Linked DNA regions of Homo sapiens: region 2 is linked to region 1. The links are contacts of gene promoters, found by promoter capture Hi-C in blood cells and fetal thymus (Javierre and others, 2016). All regions are on one chromosome and are shown on one strand. Each heading gives the region's core, a stretch centred on a gene start or on the middle of the fragment in contact. The rest is flanking DNA. Distances are from core to core; before and after follow the strand shown. Region 1 holds the start of ZNF451 (zinc finger protein 451). Region 2 overlaps ZNF451 (zinc finger protein 451).

Evidence for each region. The method cuts DNA at HindIII sites, captures the fragments that hold promoters and counts their contacts. A CHiCAGO score of 5 or more calls a contact.
Region 2: a contact is called between a fragment that was not itself captured here and the fragment with the promoter of ZNF451 in region 1, in 10 of 17 cell types (naive CD8 T cells, erythroblasts, total B cells and 7 more). The highest score is 8.4, in naive CD8 T cells.

Annotation. Positions count from the first base shown.
Region 1 is chr6:57,086,517-57,092,092 of GRCh38, forward strand. ZNF451 (zinc finger protein 451) reads left to right here and starts at 3,672. Exons shown (of 15, transcript NM_001031623.3): 1 at 3,672-3,758; 2 at 4,295-4,378. The coding sequence starts at 3,738. RefSeq lists enhancers at 3,341-3,490, 3,358-4,240 and a silencer at 3,661-3,730. The HindIII fragment of the contact is 8,135 bases long and covers 1-5,576 here.
Region 2 is chr6:57,130,868-57,136,124 of GRCh38, forward strand. It overlaps ZNF451 (zinc finger protein 451), which reads left to right. Exons shown (of 15, transcript NM_001031623.3): 6 at 2,175-2,325; 7 at 3,877-4,003. The region is part of intron 2 of ZNF451-AS1 (ZNF451 regulatory antisense RNA 1); the gene reads right to left. Among named protein-coding and RNA genes, the nearest start is that of ZNF451-AS1, 39 kb to the right of the region's middle. The HindIII fragment of the contact is 3,325 bases long and covers 1-3,291 here.

The sequences.
Region 1 (5,576 bases), core at 2,422-4,921:
AAACAGGGCTTCCAAACTGATGCATTTAATTTGCCTCTTGGTGGCACACCCTTGGCCAAGAACACAGTCTCTAGAGTCTTAAATGCTGTTAGCAGCCAATGTTCAGATAGATGGTTCTATAAATTACCATTCAATACAAGCAGTAAGACAGTCGATGGAGATCTGATGAAAAATTTTAGTTTTGAAAACAAAACTAGACTTCTTTGATACATAATGATAATGAGTTGAAGGAAGAATATCAACATAATGTCACTGATACAGATCTAGAAATCTATTATGATGTCATTTGGGAAAAAGTCTAAAAGTATTAAATTTAGGGGGGTTGTCAACGCAATGATGGGCCCTCTTCAAGATCTTAACTTATAAGGCAAAATAATGGATTCACAGCTCAGGTAAAACAACAGCAAAAAAATTCCTCAATCACACAAAGAACATTTCCCCATAGTTTAAATTCTCCATTTTGAACCTTGAACCAGTCAGTAAACAATGCTGCTTCTTCCAATTCTAACCAGTTCCTCACTTCCCAAGATTGGCTGAAAATCACCCAACCCAATTCCTTCTTAACTTTCTAAGACTGGGAGATTCCTAAATTTTGCCTATGGCTTTTCTTCTCTTTGGCTACACCAAGCTAAATAAACCTGTCTTTTGGGGACTACAAGCATGTCTCAAATCTCTTGGTGGGCTTCAAAGGATTTTCTTTTTTTCTTTTTTTTTGAGACAGAGTCTCGCTCTGTTGCCTAGGTTGGAGTGCAGTGGCGCAGTCTCAGCTCACTTCAACTGCCTCCCAGGTTCATGCCATTCTCCTGCCTCAGCCTCCCAAGTAGCTGGGACTACAGGCACCCGCCACCACGCCCGGCTAATTCTTTGTATTTTTAGTAGAGACGGGGTTTCACCGTGTTAGCCAGGATGGTCTCAGTCTCCTGACATGGTGATCCGCCCACCTTGGCCTCCCAGAGTGCTGCAATTACAGGCATGAGCCACCACGCCCGGCCCAGGATTTTCTTTTTATTTTCTTTTTTTGAGACAGGGTCTTGCTTTGTTACCCAGGTTGTAGTGCGGTGGTGAGATTAGGTTCACTGAAGCCTTGACCTCTTGGGCTCAAGTGATCCTCCCACTCCAGCCTCCTGAGCAGTTGGGACCACACACATGTACCACCACACCTGGCTAATTTTAAATTTTTTTGCAGAGACAGGGTCTCACTATGTTACCTAGGCTGGTCTTGAACCCCTGGGCTCAAGCATTCCTCCTGCCTCCCAAAGTGCTGGGATTATAAGTGTGAACCACCACCCCCAGCCTGGATTTTCTTGTAAACACATAGTCCAGCTGCCCAGAAAAAAAATAAATTACTATTCCTGTTTAAGTAGGTTTTCTCTTTCAGGGATGCTTTTCTTGATGGCTTGACATGTGATATGGTTTGGATTTGTGTCCTCACCCAAATTCCATGTGGAATTGTAATCCCCAATATTGGGGGAGGGGCCTGGTGGGAGGTGATTGGATCATGGGGGCGGATTTCCCCCTTGCTGTTCTCTAATAATGAGTGAGTTCTCACGAGATCTAGTTGTTAAAAAGTGTGTAGCACCTCCCTGCTTTGCTTTCTTCCTCCTCTGCCCATGTAAAGAGGTTCCTCCTTCCTCTTCACCTTCTGCCACAATTTTAAGTTTCCCAAGGCCTCCCCAGCCATGCTTCCTGTACAGCCTGTGGAACTGTGAGCCAATTAAACCTCTTTCTTTTATAAATTACGCAGTTTCAGGTAGTTCTTTATAGCAGTGCAAGAACGAATACAACATGGTTCTAATTATCCTATATATTTCTTGAATTTTTGAAAAATATGCTTTGAGAAATGTTAGGTAAACATTTTCAGTGGAGATAAAACACTGTAATGTTATCTTTATAGCATACATACCAAAATTTAAACATTACATTCCCCAATTATTAGACATTTAGATATTTTCCAGTTTTTGCTGTTATAAAAAAACCTGTGATGTATCTTCAGGAAAATCCCTGCAACTACAGTTACTGAGTTGTATGGTGTGAGAAGTTTTTGGGTCTAGCCACATACTGCTTGTTTTCCAAGAATTTTACCCATTAACTCCTGCCTCAACTGATTAAATATTAGAGGACACTTTCACCAGCCCACTAGGAAGAGCTTTTAAATACAAGTTTTGCCTACACATTAACGTTTTAAAAATATTTAATTTACACACAGCTTTTGAAGAACTCCCCATGCACGTCTGTCATTCTCAATTGGCTTCCACAAGTCTCAAACTTACTAGGTAGAAAGTAACTAAAGTCATAAAGCACTTGGTGGAAATGCAGGAAATGTCAAATATTAAACAATAATTACTACAGGCTTAGGCAATCAGATGGTAGTTTTGCATACAAACAAAAACAGGAATCTGAGATGTTAAATAATTTGTGTTTTTTTTTTTTTTTTTTTGAGACAGTGTCTTGCTCTGTCACCCAGGCTGCAGTGCAGTGGCATGAATTTGGCTCCCTGCAGCCTGGATCTCAATCTCTCGGCCTCAAGCGATTCTCCTACCTAAACCTCCTGAGTAGCTGGGACTACAGGCAAGGACCACTACGCCTAGCTAATTTTTGTATTTTTTGTAGAGACGAGGTTCCCTCTTATTGCTCAGGCTGGTCTCGAATTCCTGGGTTTAAGTGAACCGCCCGCCTCGGCCTCCCAGAGTGTGAGGACCCGCCTGGCCTAAAATAATGTTATCACTTAATTCTTTTCATAAACTTTATTGACAACGATTGGTGTGTTTTTTTAAAAAACCTTTTTAAATTTTTGGTAAGGTATTACCTGAGAACAGATTAAATGCATAGTTGAATATAAAAGATCTATTTTATAGACTGGTTTATGAGTGTGAACACACAAAAGGTTAAAAGGTCAACCTTACAGCAGTCTATAAATAGATCTCTCATATTCTCTCAGTATATCTGAGAATATTGAAAAAGTGCATTTCAAAATCACTGGCTAGGGTTTAGTGATAGTTAGGTAGACCTCGGTTCCCTTTCCTATTGGGCCCTGGATTTCCCATCCCTATTTTCTTCCTCAGGTGTATTAATACTGGCAGGGCCTGGGAGACTGACGCTAGGGAAGAGGTGTGTAATGTAAGGATACTTCAGATTCTTTCCTGATCCTAGGATTCAGCTAAACCTCCACATAGCCCCTGTCCTCAAAAATGAGTAAATACATAAATTTAAAAATGAAAGGAAAAAAAGAGAAATCCGTTCCCACCACCCACCTTCAGGGCTAAAACAGAAAAATCAATGAGCTGCGCTTCACAACCATACCAAAACCAAACAAATACCAACTCAAACCCTCCTTCACATCCTCCCACATCTTCCCAGTGCTTCGCTATCTCACAGGACCCAGCTGGCCCCTGGCTTCGCCCCACCCACTGCAGCTGGCGTCTTTTAGGCGCATGGTTCTTTTCCTCTCCGGCGAGGGGCGGTCTCGGGGCGGACCCGAACTACAATTCCCAGCATCCTGCGCGGCGCGGGGAAGGAAGCCCGGGAGTGAGAGAAAGCGGCTCCGGGGGCATAGCGGGCCAGTAAGGGCCGCTCCTCCTTTGAAGAGGTTTTGCGTCTCTTTCCGCCGGTGGCGTCGGCGCTCACGCAGGGGCGGGTCCCGGTAGCGCCAGGCGGTGCAGGGCGGGAAGGGGATTCGTGGCGACGGCGGCGGCAGGGACAGCAGGAGCAGTGGTGCTGTCAGCGCGGCCGTCGGAGACATGGGAGACCCGGGGTCGGAGGTGAGTAGTCGAGTGAGGGTCCTGGCGTTCTCAGAGGCGAACCGCGAAGGGTTTGTGTTTTCTGCGGTCTGAGGCCTGGTGCTCCGTCGCAGCCTCGGGGCGATACCTCTTCAGTGTCTTGGGCCGAGCCCAGCTCTGGGGCCTGGTGCGTGTCTGAGCGAGGAACCCGCAGCAACAATGGCCGCCCGGCCCCCCGCACGGGCCCTGGCGTTCGTTGTGGCCGCGGCTGGGCCAGTGGGAGCGACGTTTTAAGGCAGGATTGCCCTTCGGTGTTGAGCTTGCGTTCCTCCTGGAGTAGATAAGGGGAATTGTGAGAGGCTGGTAACTAACGCGTTTTCAGCGTTGGGTCCCTGCAGCTCCGCACACTCTGTGGCAAGAGCCAGAGCTCGAGTTCCGTTCCTAGTCGGGTTTCCGTGAAATTGTGCTCAGTTCGTTTTCCTCAAGAGCTCTCTGTCTTTAATTGTTCCTTTCGGAAACGCTCTCTTCCTACACGAATGTGGCTGAACAGATAAGCATGTTTTGGCTTGTTTTTATAGATAATAGAATCTGTCCCTCCAGCTGGCCCTGAGGCATCTGAGTCAACAACGGATGAAAATGAAGACGACATTCAGTTTGTCAGTGTAAGTAGCAATGATGATTGGGGTTTTCCCAGAGTAAAAGACTATGGTGGGCCATTATGTAATGTTACCTCACCTGGTCATTTAATGTTCATGAGTGTCTAATACATACTAGACACTGGAGCATGGCGCAGGATTGGGAAATTTACCAAAAGAGCTATCTGAGCCACCCCCGTAGCCATCACAAAGAGCACGTCCTAAAGAACGTGCTGTACACTTAATCTCGCCCCCTGCCTTTCATTTAAACTTAAGATAAAAACGCTGGTGTCTAAAACGCTGTTTTGAAATGGAGCAAGAGTAACTTCTAAAGGCGACACGGAGGAAGGAGCTGCTAATGATGAGCAAGGACGTAGAAAACAGGAAGGGTTGTGAGAGCCCAGAATCTTAGCGTTATGGTGCTTCTAACATGAAGGCAAATAGCTTGAAGATTTCTCTAACCTCTGAGATCATCATGTTACGGCATAGTACAGTTGATGCTCATAATGAAGAATCCTACATCACTGGGAACATGCTCTATTTTTCTGAGTTTGTTCCCTTTGAGACAGTAGTTTTCAAGCCTTAGTAAGTATAAACAGGCAGATTCCTGGGCCCCACTGCAGACCTACCGAATCAGAATTTCCAGGCGGGGGCCTAGGAATCTTCATTTTCAGACAAGTGCAGGGACATAAGGATTTCTGAGCACACTTTGTACAGCATGGGTTTCCAAAGCAGAAGAGAGTGTTTTATGATGTATTTTGGGGTGATTTTCTTCCATAATTATTGGAGTTTTAGAAAGGCTTTGCGTAAAGTGGTATCTCAGCTCGCCAGGCAGAAAACGGTTCTGTCCCCAACTCGTCTTTTGGAATGCCGTAGTTAGTTGCAGTTTGGTATTCAAGCTGTAGAATTTTTCGTTGAGTGTCAGATGTGCATTTATGGTGGATGCTGGGAAACCTTGTAAAATTGGTTATTAAACAGTTTCTTTCCCAGCATTAGGGCCATTTTGGTAATTCATTTTTGTATGGTATTTTAATAGATTTGTTTAGGAGTCCTTCACAAGATTGTTTTATTGAATTTCTTTCCCTTTACCAGTGTATGTTGTACTCTCTCCTTTTCATTTTGATCTTCTACGGATTTGGAGTAGAGGATGGGGGTGAATTGTATCCTGTCCTTTCCTTCACCATGCGCTGAAGTATGTTTAATAACAGGTTTCCATGGCTCTTGA
Region 2 (5,257 bases), core at 379-2,878, 42 kb after region 1:
TCTTTTTTGTGTGATGGGCTCAGCTTTTTGCTTGGTCTCTGAGGCAATGTAAAAATAAAGTTTGGAATCTATTGCTTGAACAGCTGTGTAGTATTGGGCTATATTTGGTATGGTGCTATTCCATAAATGGGCTTTAGAGAGTGCTGAGATCCTTTAAGAGCATATAGCTGGGGAATAGAGAGGAATCACAGTTCTCTTTAATTATAGAGAGTGAGATTCTACTTCTCAGTAGCATTAAAGGACTCATTCAATCTATTTCAAAATACAGTACTCAGCTGTTATAATTCAGTTCTTTCATTAGAAGTATTTTAAGTACCTTATTTATAATTATTCTAATGTTGGACAATCCATTCTTTATGGGTTTTTAGAGTTGGCCAGTTTGCATAAATTTGAATACTTAGTATTATAATTTTTAAAAATGCTGTCTGTATTATTTAAGACAAAAGCTGTTTAAATCTCTGTATTTTGCCTTTCCATGGGGAAGCCTCCCCACCCCTCCACCCAGAAATTGGCTTCTCCAACTTTATTTTTATCCAGAGCCACTATTTATAGCTAAATAAAGGTCCTAATAGGAAACATCTGGAATGTGGGTGGACAATTATAACAGTTTTCATAATTCTTACTACATTAAGAATGTTAAAGTATATTGCCATTTTAATGCCTTGTTAAGACTAAAATATGATTAATTCCATGCTGTCCATTATTTGTTGTCAGAACATATTTATAAACATTTTGACAGTTTGATAGAGGTATTCCCCCAATAAAGACTAAAAGAGAGGAAAAGCAATTAAAACCTTAATCATATATAACCATTTTGGGATTTAAAAATCATATTGTCTTAAGGGAATAATTCTATTTAAATGCTTAGGGGCTTTGTAGAAAATTCAATAAAGATAAATATTTAGCTTTTTGTTGTATGAAATATTCAAAGCATTTGAGTGAAATTAGTCCACAAGAGATAGTAATAAAACAGAGAGTAATCAAACTGTCTGTGAATCAGAATACTTGTGGTTGTTTTGCAATTGTTTTTTATACAACTTAACTGTTTAAATTTTTCTTCATATATCATGCGTTGGGAGTTGCCCCGAGGACATTTGGCTGGGGGATTCATCTACAAGTTGTGTGACCTTAAGATCAAAATTATAAAGAAAGAAAGGGATGAAGAATGGACCAGGATAAAGGAGGATTAATTAAGAGAAAAAAATTGTGGACAAACTGTTTCCTAATTGGCTTTTTAAAGGGAAAAAGAGAAGGGACAAAATAGGATAAGTAGAAAGGGGAGAGGTATCAACAATAAGTAAATCTCTGCTTTGTGTTCTATAAATGTGTTATCCCTTACACTTGTATTACTTGATGTGTCTAGACTGGAACTGATTGATCAGTGGCTTGATTCCTCAGAAAATAACACACTTATCCTCCTTGCTTCCCTGCTTTCTTCATTCCATCCTCTCTACCCCAGTTACATTGTGTAATATAATTTTCATAGAGCTCAGACCCTCTATAATATAGCTAAATTTATAACACAGTTGAAATAGTTAAAAGAGAAAATAAGAATTAGAGGAAAAGATCTGGCTGGGCACAGTGTCTCATGCCTGTAATCCCAGCACTTTGGGAGGCCAAGGTGGGAGGATCACTTCAGGCCAGGAGTTTGAGACCAGCCTGGGCAACATTGAGAGACCCTGTCTCTACAAAAAATAAAAATATTAGCTGGGCATGGTGGCATGTGCCTATAGGCCCACCTGCTCAAAATGAAGGGAGTAGGGGCGTAACCTTCTAATGCATTTGGTCTTTAACATTTTTTAGCTGTTGAGCTTAAAGAAAAGGATTTTTTTTCCCTAAAGGGAAAAAAGCTACTTGGAGCTGGGCATGGTGGCGTGCTCCTGTAGTTTGAGCGACAGCAGGAGAATTGATTGAGCCTGGGAAATACAGCAAGATGCCCATCTCAAAAAAAAAAGAGAATGCTACTTGGTGATATTAAGGGCTTTTTTTTGGTCATAACTTATTTACTTTTAGGTTATTATATCTTTTATAAGAGAGGTTTTAAACAATTATAATTAGCATCATCCAGTTGATGCTATGTCATAATTTTCATTGTTTTGTCCTAATTTTGATCACTAGCCCAAAGGATAAGTATCTGAAATAATAACCTAAGAATTCATATTCTGATGATGCAGGACTCAAAACAGGCACAATTAATTGTGGAACAAAAAGTTCATTCCGAAGAGGAGGCCACACGTGGGTGTCTGGGAAACCAATTTTATGTCCTATAATGCACTGTAACAAGGAGTTTGACAATGGGCACCTTCTCTTAGGACATTTGAAAAGGTAAGTAGGATATTCATAATAGTGAATGCTGAAGATCTAGTGAGCTACCAAGTGATTTCATAAAATGAAAGCGTAATGCTCCTTTGCCATTATGATTATATAGCTTTATATTCCAAACTCAAATTATTTTGTGCCATTATGATATAATTTTTTCATAATTGATGAAGTCAGATTTTTCTAGTGGGTGTAGCTTTCAGCTTTATGGGTATAGCTTTTAAATATTTATTTTTCCCTGATACAGCTTATAAAGTTCTAAACAGACTTTCTCCATCAAAATCCAGATAGGTTAGTTTTAGAGAAATCCAGCCCATAAATGTAAATTTCAAGAGACAAGGAGCGTGTACAGACATTTGGTCTAGCCTGAAGAAAGGTAATAGGCATTACAAAATAAATGTTAAAAGCAAACTGATGTAAGCAAAATTAATAATAAAAATTCTATTTATTGAAACCCATTTTATCAATTTACTGAGTTTGGTGGTTTTTGTTTGTTTGTTTGTTTGTTTGTTTTTTTGAGACAGGATCTCACTCTGTCGCCCAGGATGGAGTGCAGTGCAGCTTCCACCTCCTGGGCTCAAGGGATCCTCCCATCCTCCCATCTCAGCCTCCTGAGTGTCTGGGACTACAGGTTGTGCGCCACCACACCCAGCTAATTTTTGTATTTTTTGCAGAGACGTGGCTCTGCCATGTTGCCCAAGCTGGTCTTGAACTCCTGAGCTCAAGCATTCTGCCCACCTCAGCCTACCAAAGTGCTGGGATTACAGGCGTGAGCCACCGCGCTCGGCCAGTTTACTGAATTTTTGAATAGTGGAGCTTGAGAAAGGTATCAAGGGAAGGTTGTATTAAACATTCGACTCCCCATAGCCTCCCTTTCTAATAGCTGAAGAATGGGAAATTGAGAGTTTGGGGCTCTAAGCCATTGTCTTTTCCATATGTCTCACCCTACTTATGCCTTACCTTATCAAGAGAAGCTTCTAGAGGGAGTTGTAGCATTCTATAAAAAACCAGGTAAAGTCAAAGCTGGACCTGGGGTCGGGGAGGGAACAAAATTTGATAGCATACTATACCTTAGCTAAAGTGCTCCAGGCAGTTTAAAATAATGCAGATTTATTAAATGGTAAAAATGAACATTAAAAGCCATTATGGGAAACAAGTGTACTAGAAATCTTAGCATGAGATTATTATTGCAGTGATGTATTTAAAGTTAGTTGTGAGTCTTATGGTAACCAAGGCAAGAAGTAAAAGATGCTGGACTTACAATTTTCAAACGAGAAGTTTACCAGTTTGGTAAGAAATGTCTAAATCTATTTTACCGGATATTTAGTACATATGAAATCTTGCACTAACTGTTGGTCACTATCTGAGGGAATTGCTGAGCATATGGGAACCACTTGATATTTACTGTATATGAAGAACATTACTTAATATTTCAGTAGAAAAGTGCAAAGTTCTGAATGTGTGTGTATGTGTTTAGCTTCACAAATGAAGCGACATAGTTGTTTCCCTAGAATGTAGATTTATCTAATATTACCTCTTACCTCTTTTGCTGAGTAGGTTCGATCACTCTCCATGTGATCCAACAATTACACTACATGGACCTTTCTTCAGCTCCTTTGCTTGTGTAGTATGTTATAAAAAATTTGTTACTCAACAACAATATAGAGATCACCTTTTTGATAAGGTAAGAGCATGTCCTAAATTAAAAGTATTATTTTTCTAGATAGCCATGGAGTTAAGTGGAGGTTTTTTCCTGCTGTTCTTAAGCTTGCAATTACCAGTGATACACATAAGTATCAAAACTGTAATTGTCAATTGAAAATAAAATGATTTGGGCCATTTAGTTATTATAGGCAGGTAAACTTGATACCTTACAGTCAGCAGTCCTAGAGATTATCATCAAAATCCTTTCATGGAGTTGCTCTATGAAATTAAATTACCTTGTTCAAGATGCTCTGAGTGAGTCACTTGATGAGAACCAGAACCCTGTTCTTAAGTCCACTGTCTTACACTGCTTGTTGAAATGTTGGCGCCATATAGTAAATGACAAGTTATTAATGCTAGTTTTTGAGGAATATAACTAGTATTTAAAAAGCTATGTCATATAATTCTAAGTAAGTGTTAAATCTTAAGAGACATGAGTTGATTCATGGATATGCACATCCATGTAATACAGAACTCTAATGGGTTTTTACCATATTTGATAGTAGATAACTTTAATGACTTACTAACATTGCAGAAGTAATGTATGTTCATTATGAAAAATTTTTAAAATATTAACAAAAAGACAAGAAGTCATCCTTAATCTCACAGAGATAAGGACTGGGATTAAGATTTTGATATATGTGTTTTTAGTATTACTCCATATATAGATAAATGTTTTTACATAAGATAAGATATCTAAATTGTTCTGTGATTTAAAGCAGTGTGTTGCAAACATAAAAGCTTAAATATTCATCGAATCAATGCATACATTTCTACATTTTAAATCATTGAATTGTTTTCTTCTGTATGAATATAGTATTAATTTAATAAATTTCCCATTGGATGTATTGTTTGTTTTCTATTATTAAAAACTATGCCATATTAAATATTCTGTTAACTAAAAACCTTTGAGAATATCCATATTTGGATATTTGAGTAAATATCAAATTGGATTTACCGAATAAATATTAGATTTTGAAATAGTAAAACATTTATTTAGTTAATGTTTTCAGAATTTGCTTCTATCTAGAGCTATACCTGGAAAGTAACATGGAGAATAGCTTGGATTCTGTGTAGGTTCACAGCAGAGAATTAAAGCTTGCATTCTAAGTATATCTAATTGAATTCTGCAGTCCTCCCCATCTCTGTCCTGGCACTAGAGAACATTCCCAGAACAGATGTGCATCTTGAAGCAGATTTTATTTTACACTGACTCATTAGTTTTTGGAGAGCC